Regions from separate parts of the Homo sapiens genome. Here regions 2, 3 and 4 are each linked to region 1. Evidence: promoter capture Hi-C in 16 types of primary human blood cells and fetal thymus (Javierre and others, 2016). All regions are on one chromosome and are shown on one strand. The core of a region is centred on a gene start or on the middle of the fragment in contact, and the rest is flanking DNA. Distances in the headings are between cores, read along the strand shown. Region 1 holds the start of COX18 (cytochrome c oxidase assembly factor COX18). Region 2 holds the start of EPGN (epithelial mitogen). Region 3 overlaps MTHFD2L (methylenetetrahydrofolate dehydrogenase (NADP+ dependent) 2 like). Region 4 has its middle 7.8 kb from the start of MTHFD2L.

Evidence for each region. The method cuts DNA at HindIII sites, captures the fragments that hold promoters and counts their contacts. A CHiCAGO score of 5 or more calls a contact.
Region 2: a contact is called between the fragment with the promoter of EPGN here and the fragment with the promoter of COX18 in region 1, in 1 of 17 cell types (total CD4 T cells). The highest score is 6.2, in total CD4 T cells.
Region 3: a contact is called between a fragment that was not itself captured here and the fragment with the promoter of COX18 in region 1, in 3 of 17 cell types (total B cells, monocytes and fetal thymus). The highest score is 7.5, in total B cells.
Region 4: a fragment that was not itself captured here is called in contact with the fragment with the promoter of COX18 in region 1 in 1 of 17 cell types (fetal thymus); the score reaches 6.2 in fetal thymus.

The regions. Positions count from the first base shown.
Region 1 is chr4:73,068,308-73,071,247 of GRCh38, reverse strand. COX18 (cytochrome c oxidase assembly factor COX18) reads left to right here and starts at 1,532. Exons shown (of 6, transcript NM_001297732.2): 1 at 1,532-1,931. The coding sequence starts at 1,599. LOC112268467 (a long non-coding RNA gene) reads right to left here and starts at 1,302. Exons shown (of 2, transcript XR_002959797.2): 1 at 1,219-1,302. RefSeq lists enhancers at 1,181-1,697, 1,244-1,763, 1,698-2,213. The HindIII fragment of the contact is 3,732 bases long and covers 790-2,940 here.
Region 2 is chr4:74,306,907-74,309,846 of GRCh38, reverse strand. It overlaps EPGN (epithelial mitogen), which reads right to left and starts at 1,377. Exons shown (of 5, transcript NM_001270989.2): 1 at 1,271-1,377; 2 at 665-754. The coding sequence starts at 1,313. All of the region lies in intron 2 of LOC105377276 (a long non-coding RNA gene), which reads left to right. The HindIII fragment of the contact is 2,238 bases long and covers 298-2,535 here.
Region 3 is chr4:74,169,105-74,172,044 of GRCh38, reverse strand. All of the region lies in intron 1 of MTHFD2L (methylenetetrahydrofolate dehydrogenase (NADP+ dependent) 2 like), which reads right to left. Among named protein-coding and RNA genes, the nearest start is that of MTHFD2L, 12 kb to the right of the region's middle. The HindIII fragment of the contact is 8,326 bases long and covers 1-2,940 here.
Region 4 is chr4:74,148,861-74,151,800 of GRCh38, reverse strand. It overlaps a transcript of MTHFD2L not described here. Among named protein-coding and RNA genes, the nearest start is that of MTHFD2L, 7.8 kb to the left of the region's middle. The HindIII fragment of the contact is 4,121 bases long and covers 1-2,940 here.

The DNA of each region.
Region 1 (2,940 bases), core at 283-2,782:
CTCGATCATTGCTCGCTGCAGCCTTGGACTCCGGGGGGCTCAAGCAATTCTCCCGCCTTAGCCTCCTGGTAGCTGAGACCACAGATGCAAGCCACCACATCTGGATGATTTTTGTATTTGTTGTAGAGATGAGGTCTTGCCATGTTGCCAAGGCTGATCTCTAACTTCTGCCCTTAAGGTATCCTCCCATCTTGGCCTCCCAAAGTGCTGGGATTACAGGCGTGATCCACTGTGTCTAGCAAAAATAACTTTAAAATTCTGTTCAGATTATGAACAGCTGAACAGTAGTCAGTAGCAACTGATGGCTTTTTTGTTAGCTTAATAAATGGATAAAGAAATAGATTGGTAGGTTTTTCTTTTAGAAAAAGTTTATATATAGTGTGTGTTGTGCTGTGTGTTTAAACACATTTAAAAATTCATGTATAGATTTATCAGTCAGTTTGGAAAGCAGATGAATTCCAGAATCCTGAGAAAGTTATCGTAGGGTACCCTTGGTTAGGTGCACAGTGAAGGGCAAACAATAGCTGGCGTTTGACATTACCCAACATTGTTGGAGGCTTCTTTTCCTAAGTAAGTAAATAAATAAATAAATAAAAATCAAGGTTTACTCCTCACAACATATTTTAGTCTGTAGTCTAGGGGTGACCCTTCGGTGAGGAAACTCCTCCACAACATTCCATTTTGTTGTTTCCAGGAACACAAAAGTTAAAACTATATAGTCCATGTAGATTCAACGTATTCCTTTAAACCAGAAGACAGCCAGTGCTGCTGTTCAGGCTCTTTAAAGCTTATATAGGATACAAGTAAACTCAAGGAATTCACCGTACTGCCAGTGATAGTTTCCCTTAAATAAAGAGATGATACTTTTACTATAAGATTTTTGCTGCTATTTATCATGGAAGACAAAACACCGAAGAAATTCAGTTTGCAGTTGGTGGTCCAAATACTAACTGGAACAGATGGGCCAATTAAATCTACAAGAGACTGAACTATCCCTCGTGCTTAACACTCAGAGTCAGCAAGAAACATGCGTCTCTCTACAAGCAGGTACTTTAGCAACGTGTGACTCTTGAGTATGATAATCTATCGTAATCGCTAACGGAAGCAATCAGGTGCACGTAAAGAGGTTGGGGATCAGCTTCTGGTCACAAAAAACCGAGCAAGGATAATTCCACTACAAATGACTATTAGCTTTAGTGAAAAAGAATGGTAAGTTACACGGTGTAGATGAACTTTACAAGGCGAGAGCTCCCTAAAGAACACCCAGCCTGGCGGAGGGCAGCAGGCTCCACCCATGTCTCTGCAGTTTTGGTCCGGCCTCGGACTAACTACACCCTAGCAGCGGGAAACTTTCGCGTGTGCGCAGTAGGCCTGTCCAGTGCCGCGTGGGAAAGGCGGGACTTTCCTATCTCTTGCGTCACATCCACTGCGACGCAAGACGTCACCGGCTTGACTGGGAAGGTCAATCGCGGCTGCAGGCAGGCGCGCATGCGCTTTATGCCCGCTGTTGCTGGCGCGTGCGCGTATCAGCCTTGGCTGGCCGGTGTATGTCCGCTGGATTGTGAGGCCCGGGATCTGGGCTCCGCCGTGGTGCAGAAATGCTGTGCCGGCTCGGCGGTCGGTGGCTGCGGCCGCTCCCTGCCCTGCAGCTTTGGGCTAGGGACCTGCCGCTTGCGCCGGTTCCTACGAGCGGCGCCAAGCGCCCCACTCTCCCAGTGTGGGCAGTGGCACCAGTCTCTGCAGTACATGCGAACGGCTGGTACGAGGCCCTGGCCGCGTCTTCGCCGGTGCGGGTTGCGGAGGAAGTACTGCTCGGCGTGCACGCCGCCACGGGCCTGCCCTGGTGGGGCAGCATTCTGCTCTCCACCGTGGCCTTACGGGGTGCTGTCACGCTGCCTTTGGCAGCCTACCAGCACTACATCCTGGCCAAGGTGAGGGGCGCCGAGCCGTGCGCGTACCCTGCGCTGCAACCCCTGCGGCGGAGGAAGGCCGACATTCACTCAGGGTTTTCGATCGCACGATGTTGCCTTCTGCAGTGCTTAGTGTTTAATCATCGTGACCATTTCATTGTGACCATTTTAGCGTTAAAAAAAATTGAACTAGCATTAGGTGTGTTAAATAAGATACTTTGTGACACGTGTACCTGTCATTTCTTTTGTCTTACTGGATTTGTGCTCCAAGCACAAGTGGTTACTATACTTGCTCTCGGGGAACGGAGACAAAGAAATCAGTCGCAGAAGAAATTGTGTTGGCGAAACCTACAAAATTTATGTCTTAAAAGTTTTAATAGCCAGTATGTCTGCAGTGTCTTTCGTCCCAAAGTATTCCAGCTGGTCTTTCTTATTAGGAAGAAACTACTAGACTAACAGTTTGCGAACTTGTTTCCTCTCCAGACCCGACTAAGACTGTGTCTGGTTGGTCGCAGTTACTTGACCTTTTAATGCTGAATCCTTTTTTCTGAGGAATCAGGCTAGCAGTACCTTCCTTGCCTACTTCACAGCGTTATCAGAGCAAGTCAGATAATACGGGTTAAAGTGCTTGATTATTCAAATGGGATATTTCAAAAATAGTGGCTTTCTTGTTTTCAGGTTGTGAGCATGGGGAAAAAAAACCGGAAACAAAACAGGAACGGAATCAGCAGCAACATTAAGGCAGTGAGCCATTTTACAGGAAGAATGAGCACAGGGCAGGAATAAATGCTATTTTTACTTTTGATTTGTGGCTATCACAGTGTATTAAAGGTTCTTAACAAACTGCTGTTTTCTCCGCTTACGTTACTAGGAAATGTAGAGATGGAACAGTAAAGCCCAGGGTGCAGTTCTTATCTAATATTTGTAACCCTGTGAAGTAGGTGCTGTTATATATTTTATATGTGAGGGAACATGATTTTAGAGGTTAAGTTACTTGCACAGGATCACATGGATAAGTATGCATTGTGAA
Region 2 (2,940 bases), core at 128-2,627, 1.2 Mb before region 1:
CAGTCACAGGTCTTGGTAAGCAACAAGCTTTCCAAGTTTCACCTCTAAGAGTTTAAACAGATTAGAGAAAGAACGCTGATGCTCAAGAGCATCCAGAAGCCACTGTGATAATAATTAAGTGCAAAAGAAAATATATCATTACCATCAACAACAAAAATTGGGTACAAGTGGTTAGGAAATACAGCATATGCTAAAATAACAACAAAAACTCCAAAGCAAACAAGAAAAAAAGGTCATTCCAAAGATGAGGGAAAGTGCTGTTCATCTTGTAGCCATAATGTCTTTGGCATCAAAGCTTATAATCACAGATCAAAATATAATGCTGCTCATCAAGAATGCCAAAATGGGGACAAACTGTCTCTGTACACACAGGGGTTATTGGGAACCAAGCAGAAATGAAGCAGAAAATGTGGCCTGTTTCACATTCAAGACAGTAACTGAAGACAGCTTTTGTCTCATTTGCTTAACTTCCTCCTTTTAAAAAGGCAATTATTTCCTGGCACATTTATCTGTCACTTCAATTTAACAGCATCCTGCTAAAAGAGCTGATTATCTAATAATAAAATATATATTAAAAATGGCCAATATTGCTTTTATCACAATCCAAATTTCTCTCCCAAGTTTTAGAAAAGTCTTGTGAAATATGAAAATGGGAAGAAAATACCTTCTGTTTTGTTAACTGTCCAGTTACCTTGCTGGGCTGTGATTGGAGGTGTTACAGTCACGGCTGCCTCTTCGGTCAGTGCTGTCATTGCTGTATTAAGGGGGCAAAAGCATCTTTAACAGAGAGCCTCCTTCTATGTACAAGCAACAGATGGAAAGTATTCTTATTCTGTTTATTCCAATTTCTATTTTTTTAATTTATTACAGTTGAAATCCATAACGTGACTAGGGCAACATACTTACAGTTTCTCATCCATTCCATTGACTATATTAGGATTAAAGCAAATAAAAACCCAATATTTAAGACCATTGATACATTTACATATTAATTAAAAAATAAGAACCCTATAGTATAGTAGCTAAATGTATCAATTACTCTTCAATTGTATAAAGCAAACATTCTGGAGGTCTCAAAAAAGGTGTCAAAATATATTAGGAAAGGAACATACAGGACATAAGAAACTAAATTAATCCACAGATTCATTACTCTGATCTTTGTCATAAAGAACAACTGTTAGAAGCCAACTTCTCTCTAATGCAGAGAAAATAAATTCTATTCACATTTTACACTGATATAAAGTTAACAAAACAAAAGGAAATTACCTACCGTTGAATAAAAGATAGACTGATATTGGAACTCCCAAAGCCATTTCCTGTAGTTGCTTAACTTTCTTTCTCTTATCCTTCTAGACTGACGGGTGGAAGGTTTTTATTGAGCTCTCTGAGTCTTTGTTGCATTTATATTTCATGAAGCGTCATCTGGCAGTTCTTACCAATCAAAAAAATATGTACTTCTGGCAGCAGCAGAAAGCCTCTGGGCGCTCACGCACTTGGTTAGGATACCTGTATTATCTAGCAATGTGATCAAGTTTTCTTTTGAAACACTGGTTTCCTGTTACCTGTGGGCATAATCATGTATGTAAAAGTACTTAAAACAACAAGAACAAAATGTAATTTCAGGAAAGGCTCCCATTGGTGTGAAGAGAACTATACCAGCTCAAACTATGCTAGAAACCTATACGGGAGTTCAACAAACATAACTGCAAATTAGGAAGCAGCATAACCTGTTTCTAAAAGAAATATACCTGAAACTATAGTTGGTTATACCACCTTTTATTACAGACTATAAGTTCCATTTCAAATCAAGATAATTTGTTAATTTAGTTGCAGAGAACAGTTAAATTTGTGAAAACACAGAGGTTTCATATTCCATTTTAGTGTTTGTTTCTTAGTGTTACTATGACAAGTGCTGTAAATAAAATTATTTTTAATAGTATAATATTCACCTTTCTGTCATCCTGCTATTTAACATTTTTCTGAGTAAATGAAATGGGCTGCCATATTCCAGGAACAACAATGCTTAAATCTGCATCCCAATGATTAAGCTACAGAGAACCAGTAAAGTACCAACATAATGATAATAGCAATAATAATAATATTAAAATTCTCCATTAAGAGAAAATTAAGATGACATTTAGTTTGGATACATCCAATGAATAGAAAGTTTCTAAGTTAATACAACATTCAAATTATTTCTCAAGTTCATCTAGTTGTAATTATTAAAGTGGCACTTTAAAGGCCAAAATATGTCATTACAGCTACTATATTTTACAACTACAGAAATTTTCACTTGCCCCAAATTAATATAAATGATTTATAAATATATCTTCCTGAGGCATTGAGTCTTTCTGTCTGGAATTTCAATTCCTTGTATTTTCTTGAAACTTGAAACCTCAAAACCCTAAAAACATATTCAAGTCAAGATAGGTTATCTTTTGCATCATGTCCACTCAGCAAATTAGATTTACCAGAAAGGAGCCCTTTCACTATTCAAATATAAATGTGGTGTTAGAAATCACACAAGAACAAGCTTGTTGAACTCATTATAACTTGGGCAATCACTTGCCACAGGAGTCATCATTTTAAAGTTAAAATAATATAATAGTACTTGGCTCGCTTTAAATGTGTCTACATTTTGCATTTCTACTTTTGTAGGTTTTTAAAAAACTGTTGATTACTAAGTCGATTTCTAGATAATATATTTCCCAGGCAAATAACATTTGAATTATAAATTGAACAATCGTCTTTGCACCATTGCTGAGAATTTAAAAAGAAATCATTTACAAAAGATTAAATAAACCATCACAATTCTTTTTGTAGTTTCTGGAGGGAGATGTTAGGACTCATATTAAATACTTTCTTTTTTTTTTTTTTTGAGATGTTTTCTCACTCTGTCACTCAGGCTGGAGTGCAGTGGTGCGATCTCAGCTCACTGCA
Region 3 (2,940 bases), core at 128-2,627, 1.1 Mb before region 1:
CAGCATAATTATTTTTTAATTGATTCACATAGTTGCATGTTTGAATGGTTCATTTCTTTTTTATTGCTGAGTAGTATTACATTGTATGGATATACCAATATTTGTTTATCCATTCGATTGTAATTAATGGATATTCGGGTTCTTTCCAGTTTTTGATCATGACAAATACAGCTGTTACAAACATTTTATAACACATATGCTTTAATATATTTTGTACACATATGCTTTAAAATATTTTTTTTGTGGGGGACAGGGTCTCCATCACCCAGGCTGCAGTTCAGTGGCAAGATCTCGGCTCACTACAACCTCCGCCTCCTGGGTTCAAATGATTCTGATGCCTCAGCCTCCAGAGTAGCTGGAATTACAGACATATGCCACCATGCCTGACTAATTTTTGTATATTTAGTAGAGACGGGGTTTCGCTATGTTGGCCAGGCTGGTCTCGAACTCCTGGCTGCAAGTGATCTGCCCCTCTTGGCCTCCCAAAATGCTGGGACTACAGGTGTGAGCCACCACTCCTGGCCGCTTTAATTTCTTTTGAGCAAATATCTCAAAGGGGAATGGCTAGGTCACATCGTAAGTGTATGTTTAAATACGTTAAAAACTGTTACGTTACAAAAACACTGTACCACTTTGCAACTTTGCATTCCTTCAAACACTATATGAGTTCTGGTTGCTCCATATACTTGTCATCACTTCAGATGGTCAGGTTTTAAAACTGTTGACATTTTAGTGGACATATGGTGGTATGTCACTGTGCTTTAAATTTGCATTCCCTTAACGAATACTGATGTTGAACATCTTTTCATATGCTTATTTGCCATCTGTGATCTTCTTTAGTGAATTAAATAATTAAGTCTTTTGCCCATTGTTTAGTAGGTTGTTTCCTATTTTGAATTTTTTTAATTTTATTATTATTATACTTTAAGTTTTAGGGTACATGTGCACAATGTGCAGGTTTATTACATATGTATACATGTGCCATGTTGGTGTGCTCCACCCATTAACTTGTCATTTAGCATTAGGTATATCTCCTAATGCTATCCCTCCCCCCTCCCCCCACCCCACAACAGTCCCCGAAGTGTGATGTTCCCCTTCCTGTGTGCATGTGTTCTTATTGTTCAATTCCCACCTATGAGTGAGAACATGCAGTGTTTGGTTTTTTGTCCTTGCGATAGTTTGCTGAGAATGATGGTTTCCAGTTTCATCCATGTCCCTACAAAGGACATGAACTCATCATTTTTTATGGCTGCATAGTAGCCCATGGTGTATATGTGCTACATTTTCTTAATCCAGTCTTTCGTTGTTGGACATTTGGGTTTTTTTAAAGTTCTTTGTGTATCCTAGATTCATGTCCTTTATCAGATATGGGGTTTGAAATATTGTCTCCCAGTCTGTGCTTTGCCTTTTTATTCTCATGTTTTTAGAACAGTTCTTAATTTTAATGTACTCCAATTTATTATTTTTTCCTTTTATGGACCATGCTTTTAGTGTTGTATAAAAGAAATCTTTGCCTAATTCAAGGTCACAAAGGTTTTCTCCAGCGTTTTCTTCTAGATGTTTTATGGGCCTAAGTTATACATTCAGTTTATGATTTATGTCTATTTTTAGTTTGGTGAGAATTTGTATGAGGCTACTGCCAAGTGTTTTTTATGTCTATTGAGATGATCATATGTTTTTCTCGAGTGTTAGTCTGTTAATATGGTAACTGATCAATTTTCAAATGTTAAATCAAACTTGCATTCCTGGGATACATCCCAGTTGGTTATTATGTATCTATCCTTTCCAGACTATCATGGATTTCATCTGAAATTTTGTTAAAATTGTTGCATCTACATGCATAAGAGGTGTTTGTAGTTTTCTTTTCTTATAATGTTATCATGTAGCTTTGATACCAGGATGATGCTAGCTTCATAGAATGAGTTAGGAAGAATTCTATCCTCTTCAAATTTCCGGAAGAGTGTGTAAAGAATTGGCATTTTTTTCTCGCTTAAATGTTTGGTAGGATTCACCCATGAAGCTATCTGATTCTGGGGTTTTCTTTCTGGGAAGGTTTAAACCTACAAACTTAAATTCCTTAATATAGAGGGCAATTCAGGTTATCTAATATTTCTTGAGTGATTTTTGTAGCTTGTGCTTTGTACCTTCCAATACTTTGTATGTAATTATAAGCAAATCAAGTTAAAATAAAATAAAACTTTTGAGGTTTTTATTTTTCAAAGTAAAGTAACAAACTTTTTTCACTGTTTCCTATGAATTTCTGGTAAGGATATTTTATGAATTCATTTAAGTAGCCTTTTGGCACTAAGATAACAAGGATCTTTTATATTAGCAAATACTAAGAACTGCAGATACAGCAACAAATTCCAGCACAACTCATTTATAGGTAGTAGCAAATAAAACTTTCCATAAATCAATTTGTGTCAGCAATATTTTCTTGGGGTAGAACACTATTATAGAAGCAGATTCATCTGTTAAAAAAACTAGTAATCACCTAACACAGTAAGGAATATACATTCTATTTTAAAATATAAAAACATCTGAACTCTGTCTTGCATTTTATAGCATGTGAGTAGTGATGCTACTGCTGACACATTATTGATTCACTCACATTAAACAAAATAATTTGTTCACAGGCCACTGTGAAGCTGGCAATCACTGAGTATAATCTAGGCTAATTATGTCCTAGACAGTACAAATCTGCGTGACCTGGAGATTGTCAGAGAAGACCAATAGCATAAACTGATTCCCAGACTCCAAAGAGACAACCTGTATACAGATTAAACTTAACTGTACCGTGCATACTCAAGTCTAAGACTGTTCAGGGTTTACTTTAAATTATAGCACTGAGGTGCTAAGTCAGCTCGCTAACTAATTACAGCAGACATGATACAGCCTGGCTAGCTGGTGTTTATGGGTAAATTAGGAGTTAGGTCTCTG
Region 4 (2,940 bases), core at 311-2,810, 1.1 Mb before region 1:
CTTGAATTAATAGAAAGACCAAGATGCTTAATATTGTAAATATGTCGACTTTCACTAAAATAATCTATTAATCCAATACCCAATAAAATATCTCAGTTTTTTAGTCAAATGGGGGAAGATTTAATATAATAATAACAGCATATGTTTCCCTGAATTTGCTATGTGCCAAGGCTGTGCTGAACACTTTTCAGAAGTTATTCTTTTAACCCTTACCACAATGAAGCTATGAGGAAACAGGTAAAATAGGCTAGATAACTTGCCAAGACCTACAGCTATCAAGTGATGAAAGTGGAGTTCAAGTCTCAGGTAGTGTGAAACCAGTGCCCACACTTCTAACTGCAGTGCTTTTCTAAATCTAAGGTTCTCCTGGAAAAGTTTGCATGCTACATCGCTAAGGTACAGAGAACTCATCCCAATGTCTGCATTTTAGTCATTTATACAATCTTCTGTAACTATAAAATTGATTTTTGATTTGAATCTGTGTAATAAGGAGAAAATAATTTTTAATTTTCCAATGAATGGTGGATTCTATTGAAAAATTGATTACCAAGTTTTATTTCATGATAATTAATGTGACTACCAGTTTCATATTTTAATAACTTATTGATAGTTTATTTGTGGTCTTATAATACCATTAACTGTATAAAAAGTGCACCTGGTTTAGAATATAATGTTAACTATATATACTGTATATATCTATATACATGTCAATATATAACCAATGTTACAATGATTGTCTTTTTTCTAATTCCTCTGTTCAACTTTTTAAAGACTAAGAATGATGTAAAGAACCCAATTTTTCTTTATTTTTTACTACATATTATAGCATTATTTCATCAGTGAATATGGGATAATGATTATTACAGATTCCATATAGTTTATCTATTATCATTATATAATGGCCTTCTTTATTTTGTTAAGCCTTCTTGTTTTCCATGGTAATTGTTAGACATTGCTACTCCTATCCTTGTTTAGTTTTAATATGAAAAGTGTCACATGTATATATTTATATATATATACACACACACACGTATACATATACACATGTATACCTGTATCTTTTTACATTTAAATTTTGTTTCACTTTGTTTTGATGTGTGTCATTTAAAACAACATATGTTAATTTTTTTAAGTTATGGGATAATGTTTGGAGCAGAAAATAATATGCAAATAATATATATGCATTGGCTTTTGATTGCTGCTATAATAAATTATCACAAATTTAGTGGTTTAAATAATACAAACTTGGCCAGGCACGGTGGCTTACGCCTGTAATCCCAGGACTTTGGGAAGCCTAGGCGGGCGGATCACCCGAGGTCGGCAGTTTGAGACCAGCCTGACCAACATAGAGAAACACCGTCTCTACTAAAAAATACAAAATTAGCTGGGCATGGTGGCGCATGCCTGTAATCCCAGCTACTCAGGAGGCTAAGGCAGGAGAATCGCTTGAACCTGGGAAGTGGAAGTTGCAGTGAGCTGAGATCGCACCATTGCACTCCAGCCTGGGCAAAAAGAGCAAAACTCTGTCTCAAAAACAAACAACAACAACAAAAACTTATGGTGTTACATTTCTTTAAGATAGAAGTCTGGTGTGAGTCTCACAGGGCTATAGTCAATTAGGGTTGTATTCCTTCTGGAGGCTCTAAGGAGAATCCATCTCCTTCCTTTTTGCGTGTTCTGTAGACAACCTACCCACTTTCTTTGGCTTGTTGGCACCCTTCCCCCATCTTCAAAGCCAAGAATGTCGAAATCCCTCTCTTACTCTTCTTCCATTATTTCTCTCTCTTTCTCTGTCTCTCTCTTTTACTTACTACAGCCAGGGGAGGGTCTCTATTCTAAAGGCCTCATGATTTGATTGAGCCCACTAGGTTAATTCAAGATAATATCCATATCTCAAAGTTACAAACCATAATCACATCTGTAATAGTACCATTTGCCATGTAAGGTGATATATTCACAAGTTTTGAAACCTAGGATATAAACATTTTTTGGGGGGAGCACTCTTCTACCTACCACAACACATAACACCCTTGCAAATTATGAAGCATAACAACAAGAAGAATATTCCTGAACCTACCACACAACGTGGGAATTAGAACCTTTCTGATATCAATGAATAAATCTAGGTGCTTCTTTCATATCCCAAATTTTTTATCAGAGGTAATCATTGTCTTGAATTTTGTAGTTTAATCGTTTTGATTTAAAAATAATTTAATCACAAATACATCTTTTAACAACATAATGCTCAGTCTTCCTTGGTTTTTGTTTTGTTATTTGAGTTTAACATATGATATTGAGCTGGATGCAGTCTTCAAGCACTTGCTTTTTCCCTTTTACTCCGTGTTTCCAAAACATATTTATTTTGTTGCATGTAGCTATAATTCATTCATTTTTTTCTGCTAAATATTATTAAATAGGGGCATTTAGTTTTTCAGCAGCCTATTAACAGATGTCTGAGTTTGTATTAGGCAGAATCTAGGAGGAAACAGAAAACACTGTAGGTATTTCAAATAAAGGAAATTTAATATAGGGATTTAATTAAGTAGATAATGGAAGAACTTAGAAGCCAAAAAGGATACAAAATAACCCAACAGCAGGAAACCACTGAAACTGCTAAATCTGGAGAGACAACTGGATGGAGCAAGTGGCACTATCAGAATTGAGAAGATAAAACTATCTAATGAGAGCTGGAATCATGGCAAAGTCTTCCTTGCAGGACCTGGAACTATCTAAGCAATGATTGATCAGAGGAAGCTATGTCCACAAGGGAGACAGCAGAAAGATAAGAAGAAAAATACACTGGGTTTCCCCTTCTCTCACACTCCAAAATTTGGCTATTGTTTCCCATTGGTCAAACCTACCTGGAAACCAAAAAGCAAAGGGGCCTAAGAAATATAGCCTTTTGGGATACAGAAAAGACTAAGTAAGGGAAAGGCAATG